Regions from separate parts of the Homo sapiens genome. Here regions 1 and 2 are each linked to region 3. The links are contacts of gene promoters, found by promoter capture Hi-C in blood cells and fetal thymus (Javierre and others, 2016). All regions are on one chromosome and are shown on one strand. Each heading gives the region's core, a stretch centred on a gene start or on the middle of the fragment in contact. The rest is flanking DNA. Distances are from core to core; before and after follow the strand shown. Region 1 holds the start of ZFP41 (ZFP41 zinc finger protein). Region 2 holds the start of GLI4 (GLI family zinc finger 4). Region 3 overlaps JRK (Jrk helix-turn-helix protein).

What was found. The method cuts DNA at HindIII sites, captures the fragments that hold promoters and counts their contacts. A CHiCAGO score of 5 or more calls a contact.
Region 1: a contact is called between the fragment with the promoter of ZFP41 here and a fragment that was not itself captured in region 3, in 4 of 17 cell types (naive B cells, total B cells, neutrophils and 1 more). The highest score is 9.1, in naive B cells.
Region 2: a contact is called between the fragment with the promoter of GLI4 here and a fragment that was not itself captured in region 3, in 1 of 17 cell types (neutrophils). The highest score is 5.3, in neutrophils.

The regions. Positions count from the first base shown.
Region 1 is chr8:143,245,553-143,248,252 of GRCh38, forward strand. ZFP41 (ZFP41 zinc finger protein) reads left to right here and starts at 1,387. Exons shown (of 3, transcript NM_173832.6): 1 at 1,387-1,590. RefSeq lists silencers at 482-641, 842-1,731, 1,772-1,821. The HindIII fragment of the contact is 20,601 bases long and covers 1-2,700 here.
Region 2 is chr8:143,266,156-143,268,855 of GRCh38, forward strand. GLI4 (GLI family zinc finger 4) reads left to right here and starts at 1,290. Exons shown (of 4, transcript NM_138465.4): 1 at 1,290-1,329. RefSeq lists silencers at 756-1,465, 1,626-1,745 and an enhancer at 2,306-2,700. The HindIII fragment of the contact is 18,516 bases long and covers 1-2,700 here.
Region 3 is chr8:142,666,855-142,669,554 of GRCh38, forward strand. All of the region lies in intron 1 of JRK (Jrk helix-turn-helix protein), which reads right to left. Among named protein-coding and RNA genes, the nearest start is that of JRK, 1.8 kb to the right of the region's middle. RefSeq lists an enhancer at 26-882. The HindIII fragment of the contact is 942 bases long and covers 818-1,759 here.

The DNA.
Region 1 (2,700 bases), core at 137-2,636, 580 kb after region 3:
TCTGAGTAGAACTGGGCCGAGGGGGTGGCATGTCACCCACAATTAGGTTCTGTTCCACAGGACTCCATCTGGGGGTGGGGCTCTCCCACGGACCCTGGGGAAGCGGCCACCCTGTGAACCGCCCACCCTCCCACAGTAGGGACTGGCAGGCAGCCCCCGGGAGCTGAGAGCAGCTCCTGCCGGCCCTCAGTCCTACAGGCACCAGGACATGACTTCTGCCAGCAATCGCATGAGGTGGGAAGTGATCCTTCCCCAGTCCAGCCCCCAGATGAGAACACAGCGGCTGACCAGAGCTGAGGACCCAGCTAAGCCTGGCCTTCTGGCCCACAGAAGCCTTGAGATAATAGGCGGATGTCGTTTTAGGACACCCAATTTGCGGTACGTAGGGAACTAACACGCGGGGCTCTGGCGGGCCTGGCGGCTCAGTGCGATCTGGGCAGGCAGGAAGTGGAGTGAGCACAGCCAGCGGCTGGGAGCACATCCCGGAGGGGCTGCCTGCGGCGGGAGGAGCGGCAGGGGCCACGTGGTGGGGGACGGCTCGCCAGGGCGCGCACGCGGTGGCGGCGGCGGTGGAGGCGTTGCCCGCCTAGCTAGGGGCCCGCGGCCTGGAGAGGCGTCGGTTCTCCTTCCGCGCTGAAGGCGGAGACAGCGACTTCCCGTGGAGGCAAGCCGTGGGCGCCGCGGAGGCGGGGGCTGGGGGTCGGCGGAGGCGGGAGCTGGGGGTCGGCGGGGGCTGGGGGTTGGCGGGGAGCGTCCTCAGGGACAAGTCTCCCAGCACGCGGCCGCGACCTCCCCGTTGGGGGTCTGGAGCCAGGAGCCCACGCGCGTCGGATCCGGAGAGTCTGGTGGGCGCAGCCTACGTGACAGGGTCGGCTCGGGACCGAGCTGCTGGGGACTGGGCCTTGCGGGGCGGGGCCGCTGGGGGCGGGGCATGAGGGTGCCGGTTCGGGGCGGGGCTTTTTGGGGGCGGGACATGGGGCGGAGCCTGGGGGCGGAGCATGTGGGGAGGTGGCTGGGGAGGAACTTTCGGGGGCGGGACACGAGGGCGGAGCCTGAGGGGGCGGGGCATGAGGGGAAGCCGGCTCGGGAAGGAGCTTTCGGAGGCGGGGCCCGCTCGGGGAGGGACCTGATTTCGGGGGAGCCTTCGGGAGGGCGCCTGCCATAGACGACTGTAAAGGGGCGGGGTCAGCTCGGGGAGGACCCTGCGGGCGTGGCGGCAGTTATGGGTGAAGCCTGAGGGGGCGGGGCCTGATCGGGGCGGGGTCTTCGGGGGCGGAGTCGGCTGGGGATGGAGCCGCTCGGGCCGAGCCCTCCACCGCCCACCATCACCGAGTCCGGCCCAGGCTCCTAGCGCGGCCGCCGGAAGGGGCGGGTCAGCGGGCGGGCATTTCCTGCCGGTGCCTAGGGCCGACGGGGACGCTGGCACTGGTGGGGAGCTGTTGGGGGGTCCCGCATCTAGGGCTCTCCTTTCCTGCCTCCGGCCCCCGCGAGGGGCGCGCGCCTCTCCCCGCCCTCCAGCAGTCCTGGTAGGGCCCGGGCGCGTCCGCGCTCTGCAGCGGGAGGTCCTCGTCGCCTCTCGTCTCCAGCCAGGTACTCACTGGGCTCCTGCCTGCCGCCTCCGGCCCAGGACGCGCAGCGTCGGTATGGGCCCCGCCGCCTCCCCGCACCCCGGCGCTCCAGGGATGTGGCAAGACCCGGCTTTGAGCACCTCCCGGGCGCCGGCCCCGAGGCCGACCTAGCTCTGCACGTGGGCCGCGGGGCTCTGCCGTTGAAAGGAGAGCCTCTAACTAGGAGCACGCACGGGACCCTGGCGGGCCCCTCCGCCTGGCTCAGATGCCTGGCATCTCAGGCCTTGGCACAGCTAGCAGGCCCCTGGCAGGCCGTGGACCCAGCAGGCTGTTTTAGTGCAGATTGCCCCTGAATCTCAAGCCCACTAATGTTCCAGTCTCTCCATGAGACCCAGATCCCTGAAAGTAGTGGAGGGAGGCGCCAGGGTGAGTGAGGTTTTCTAGGCAGCCCTTACCGCCCACGGATACCCAGAGCTTCATATTACAAGTGAAGGGTCCTCCGCCCAGAGAGGCGACGGAGCTACGCTGGAGTTGCACGACAGAACCAGAACCCCAGTCTTTAGGGGTGTGGCAAGCGTGGGTTGCGCTGTTTGTAACTAGCTAATCACTCCTGTCTACAGGCCTGTGAGGTGAGGCCAAGAAAATCGCTATGGTCCAATCCGTTTTTGTTTTTTGCGTGTGGGGTTTTTTGTTTTGGTTTGGTTTGGTTTTTTTGTTTGAGACGGAGTCTTGTTCTGTCGCCAGGCAGGAGTGCACTGGCGCGACCTTTGCTCACTGCAACTTCTATCTCCTGGGTTCAGGCAATTCCCCTCCCTCAGCCTCCTGAGTAGCTAGGACTACAGGCACGTGCCACCACGCCCAGCTAATTTTTTGTGTTTTGGTAGGGACAGGGTTTCACCATGTTGGCCAGGATGGTCTCGATCTCCTGACCTCGTGATCCGCCCACCTCGGCCTCCCAAAGTGCTGGGATTACAGGCATGAGCCACCGCGCCCGGCCAGTCCACTCTGCTTTTAAGAAATATTTTATTTCTCAGGGTGGGCAGCGTGTAGAGAAGTGAGTCATTCCAGTCTCTGCCGGTTAGCACCTGCCAGCCTAAGTTGAGTCGACAGAGCCGTTATGGAGAATGTTCCC
Region 2 (2,700 bases), core at 40-2,539, 600 kb after region 3:
GCTGGTCTCAAACTCCCCACCTCTGGTGATCCACCCACTTCAGTGTCCCAAAGTGCTGGGATTACAGGCGTGAGCCACTGCGCCCGGCGCTACTTATAACTTTTTAAGAAACTACCAAGCCAATTTCTAGAATGGCAGCACCACTTTGCCTTACCACTGGCGATGTCCCAAGCTGCTCCGCGACCTCAGTGATGCTTGGCACTTGTTAGCAGTTTTTACCTGAGCCACCTGGCAAGTGTGCAGTGGCACCCACCGCGATGCTGGCCGGCCCTTCCCTGACAGCCATCCCTTCCCGAGCCTATTGCCATCCCTGTGCCCTCTTCGGTCAAACGTCTGTTGCGGCTCTTGCCAATTTTCTAACTGGAATGTTTGTTTTCTTGCGGTAGAGTTTAGAGATTTTTACATATTATCAGCCTGGGGGCTCCTCCACCCACACAGCCCTGAGCGTCCACCCTGGCAGCTGTTGCCCGTCTGCAGGCCCCCCCGCCCTCTGCTCCGCGTGCCCCTCCAGCTCAGGGGTCCCCTCGCCTCGGCTCTCTGCACCCCTGCTCAAAACGGTCAAAGAACCCTCCCCGGCCGTTTATTTTTCCCAGAAAGTGACAATTTTCTCTTTTCAGGTCGTAAGCACAGAACTGAGGGAGAAACTGTGGCTGAACAAGAGGAAAATGAGGAAGGAGTCCATGAAGGGGCTTTGGGGAACCTGTAACATCCTCCTCAGGCTCCCGGGGACGCCCCTGGAAAGCAGGCAGAATCGAGGGCGCTGGGGCCCCCGCGAGGGGAGCGGGAGGTCGCGCGTCTCGCAGCGGTTCCCGGCCGCCGGTGACCATCGCTGCGGACACATCCCGAGGAGGGAACCCAAGAGGGCGGCGGGGGGGACTCGCGAGCTGAACGTGGAAGCAACTCCAGCCGAGGACCCCCGGAGGCCTGGAGTGCACGGAGGGGCCGCGGGCAGCGTGGGGACGGCGCCGTCATCTCCCGAAGCCCGGCCCCGCGCTGGCTCCCCGGGCGGTGCAGGGCCGGCGTCGGGAAGGAGGCTCCGAGGCGCCGGCTTCTGCGCCCCACGCAGCGCCGCTCCCCGCGCCCGGGCGCTTTGCAGGCGCGGGCGGGATCCGGGCCAGCGTGTACGCGAAAGCCACGCGCGGGCGCAGCCCACGAGGGGAGGGGCGGGGAAAGGCCTCCTCTTCGCTCCCGGCCCCGCCCCCACACGGCCACCGAGGCGTGCGGTCCTCCCGGGGCCCAGAGCGTCCCGGAAGTGCGCGCCGGCCGGGCGGAGTGGGGCGGGGCCGGACACTTCCGTCCGGCGCGCGGCGTCCTCCTCCCGCTCGGAAGGTGAGTGGGCGCGGGCGGCGGCGGCGGCTCCGGGTGCCTGGGACCAGCCCAGTCCGAGCTCGTGCGCCGTACTCCGCGGTGCAGCCCTGCCCAGCCGGGCCGTGCGGCCCTTGCAGCCGCCGCTCGCCGTGACCTTGGCCTTGGGCCAAGCCCGGGGAGCGGGGTGGGCTCCTGGGGGTCGCGGAGCAGCAGCGGACCGCCCCGCCCAGCGGCCCTGGCGATAGCGGGTGTCCGTTCGCAGGGCGCCTTTCCCAGGCACCCAGTGACGGCAGCTGTCGTCATCGCCACTCTGCAGATGGGAAACTGAGGCCCGGAGGTCCCGCCGCTCCGGAGCGAGGAGCCGCCGGACCCCAGCGCCGCACCGCCGGGCGGACGCGCTCTGTGCCGAGCTCCCGGCGATTGGGTCCGCTCCCACGGGGCTGGGAACAGAGGGGCAGAGGATGCTTCCCCCGAGCCGCTGGCAGGAGTGCCCTTCCCCCTTCAGTCTGGAGCTCAGAGTTTGTGCGTCCCTGGGGGTGAAGGGGCGTCCACGCTGTGATGGTCGCCTCTGCTCAGTCCTGGGGGCCAAGCCAGGGTCGGGGTGATCGAGCAGGCCCTTTTACCAGGTGTCCCCAGTAAGTTAACTAAGTAACTTGAGATGTGACTTCAGGGTGGAGGACCTGCACCCAGTGGCCACCTACCTGGTGACCTGACCCTTCCCATCATTAGGGGATGGAGGCTGGCCCAGAAGCCGGGCACTGGGGTGGCGGCCGTGTGGGAGCTGCCTCTCCCACTTCCTCGAAGCAGGCACTGTCTGCTGTTCTTAGATCTGAGTATCCGTTAACTTTTGTCCTCTTTTCCCGTTCCTTTCTTCACTCCCTGCCCCAGATTAGGAGTTCCTACTCTATCACAGTATGAAAGAAAAGTCACTTTTCACATTGGACTCAAGCCGTTTTTGCAAAGTAAACTAAGAAGTGTCTTGGAGCCCTGAGTGAGTCTCCCAGTGCTGCTGCAGGGCTGGACTAGGGGATTCCAGCCTGCAGTCTCTGAGGGCTCTGTAGGGTCTGAGGAAGAGAGTTGCCCTCTGGAAACGTCTCTTCTCTGCTGTTCGGGAAAAACCTTATTAAGATTTCCTCCAAAACACTCATGCGCAGCAGGCATGGTTCGGTTTTCAGCCCTCCCACAGGGCCAGCAGCTGAGGTTTTTCTGGAAGACTCCCTATGCCTTTCTCTGGGGGAGGGGTGATGCCACGGGCTGGAAGGAGATGCCAGAGCCTCTGCTGGGACAGGAGCTTCGCTTCAGCCCCCACAGGCGTCTGCTGTGCCGCCCAGGCGGTGGCTGCTTCCTAAGCGCGCCTTCCAAGGCGTTACTCCTTTGCTGCTGCTGCTGCTG
Region 3 (2,700 bases), core at 39-2,538:
GAAGTCCGATGCTGGGCGGACCCAAGAACAAACCTCCCACCCGCCCAGCCTAAGCTTCTTGCTGTAACTGCTCGCTGGGCTACCTGAGCTTCTCAAATCCCTTATTCCTCCCTGAGGAGCAGAGGCAGGGGTGGAGGGATGCAGGGAGGAGGAACTCCTCACTACCCTCCCCGCCAAAGATCTTACAAACCCCATCTGGAGCAGGTCTCTAAACTCCTCTCTCCGACACAGAGCGCCAAACTGCCTCTAGAAAACAAGGCATTAGAAGTTTCTCTAGAACAGCAGGCCTCAAGCTCCTCCAAGGGCTAGGAGGTGCTGCCAGTTTCTCAATCACCCTCTGACCTCCCTGACTGCCACACACTCAGATGCGTCTACAAGGAGCCGCAGCAGACAGACAGCTGTGACCATTCCAGGCCTCTTCCAGAGGGGACCCCTCAAGCTCAGCTCAGGGTACCCTGCCCCAGGCAGCCACACTGAGCCGCTGGTCTCTGAAACCCCAGGCTCTAGTGCTGCCCGCCCACCTGGCTCCACAACCACGGCAGGGCCGCAGAGCCTGCCAGACATGGACGGACACGGAGACACACACACACACACACACACACACACACACACACACACAGCCACCCAACCTCACTCACACATACACGCTCAGAGGACACAGGAACAAGCTAGCCCAGAGCAGGAACTTCTTTAGCATTTGCTAATTTGGGAGGCTCTATGAACAAATGACTAATTTACGCCAGAAGCAAATGCCAGGAAACCTGATAGCCCCCTGGGAGCAAGGGTTCTTCCTGGGCCAGCTGTGCACCCTACGAAAAGCTTGCTTTTAAGTTTCACACACACCTTTGACCAATAGGAAGAAAAATGACATAGAAATGTCACAGCTCTAACCAAACACATCTTTCTGTTGGAGTTTTGAACTAACTTCTCACCCTTCTCCTATATAAAGACAATGCGGGTCATTCTCATCCCTTCTAGGTGGACAATTTCACCCTCTCATAACAACTCTGCGAAACACCCCACAACCCTCCCTACACCCGAGCCGACTGGCAGGGCACAGAGGGCGCACCCCTGTGAGGCCAGGGCAGCCTATGGAGTCAGGGCCTGCAATGCACTTCACCCAGTTAAGACACTGCTGAGGGTGGTGAGGGCTGAAAAGCTGTTTGCCCAAACACCGGGCAGCTCAGCTGGCCGCCTCAGTGTGGCGTGCGTGCTATGGGCAGGGGTCTCCCTGCCCTCACTCCTCCGCAGGCCAGCAGTACTTGAGGATGGACTCCTGGAGTTCCCACCTCCCTCCCGCGTCCTTACCATAGCTGCTTCTGCCAACTCCATGCAGAGCGTGTGGCCAAAGGCCTACTTACATGTGGAGCGCAGAAACGCAGCCCTTTGAGGCCAGAGCTCAAGGGAAAGGAGGAGTGCAATCAAATGCAGCAAAAGCTCCAAAGAAAAATTATAGGCTTGTTGGCTGCCACCTCTGGGTGAGTACTGTCCTCTTCCGGAGTCAGTTTCCTGGTCTGCAAAATGTGGGCTGGTCCCTTAAGGATCCTGCATTGTTCGCTGAGGGTGACGGTGTGACGTGTGTGCGGTCTGGCACAGCACAGTGAGCTATGTGCATCTCACCATGGGGAACAGGAGGGAAGGCAAGGCCACAAACCACCCTCCAGATTTTTAATATGAACCCGCTGTAGAAAAACTGGGGGAGACACGGAATCCCACAGTAGCTTATGAGGGACTAACTGGGGACTGGGATGCAGAGAAAAGCTTCCTGGAGGAGACTCAACACCAGACACAGCTCCTCGCGGACACGTCTCCATGCCTGACATGCAGGTGTAGCAGGATGACACAAAGTGGCTGAACTTGTTTCATAAGGAATATCTGAATTTTATTTTTAAAGGAAGTTTTTGGTCTTGCAAGTGGGACAACAGTGTGTTCTGCCAGTTTGTGTCATCCTGCCACACCTGCACGTCAGGCATGGAGACGTGTCCACAAGGAGCCCGTGTCTGGTGCTGAGTCTCCTCCAGGACGCTTTTCCCGGCATCCCAGTCCCCAGTCAGCCCCTCACAAGCTACTGTGGGATTCCCTGTCTCCCCGAAATTAGGGTGGTTTCTTGCCTTGCGACTGGAGAGGAAGCACTGATCCCCAAGGCCACGTGAACACGGGATGAAACGTGCAATTCTCCTGTGCCCAAGGCACAGACAAGAAACGGGAGGCCTGAGGGGCCAGCGCTGGGGCTGACTCCGTCCTGTGTGAGGCTAAGAGGCCCTGAGAAACGCGGGGGGAAAGCGGGAAACAACCTTCGCAGGGGCATAGTGTGTGTGTGTGTGTGTGTGTGTGTGTGTGTGTGTGCGTGTGTGTGTTGGGGGGTATGGAGGATATGAAGGAGAAATACTCAAAAAACAAGTCGCATTCTGGAGCTGGGGGAAGAGGTGAGCTGGGGGTCAGAAGGAGAGTATGGGACAGAGAAGGAGGGGACAGAAAGCCTGGGGCCGTGCGCCCCGCAGAGAGCGCCCGAGAGCCGGCGCCGAGTTCCGCTAGGAGCCCTCCACGCTGGGGGATCCTGGCGCAGAGACAGCGCTGGGCTACTGGCGAGGCTCGCTTAAAAAGCGTCCGTACCCCAGGGTCCCCGTTTGTGGGTAGAAATTCAGTCTGGGACAAGAACAAGAACAAAAACAGAAATGGAGAAAAAAAAGTCTCGGTCTG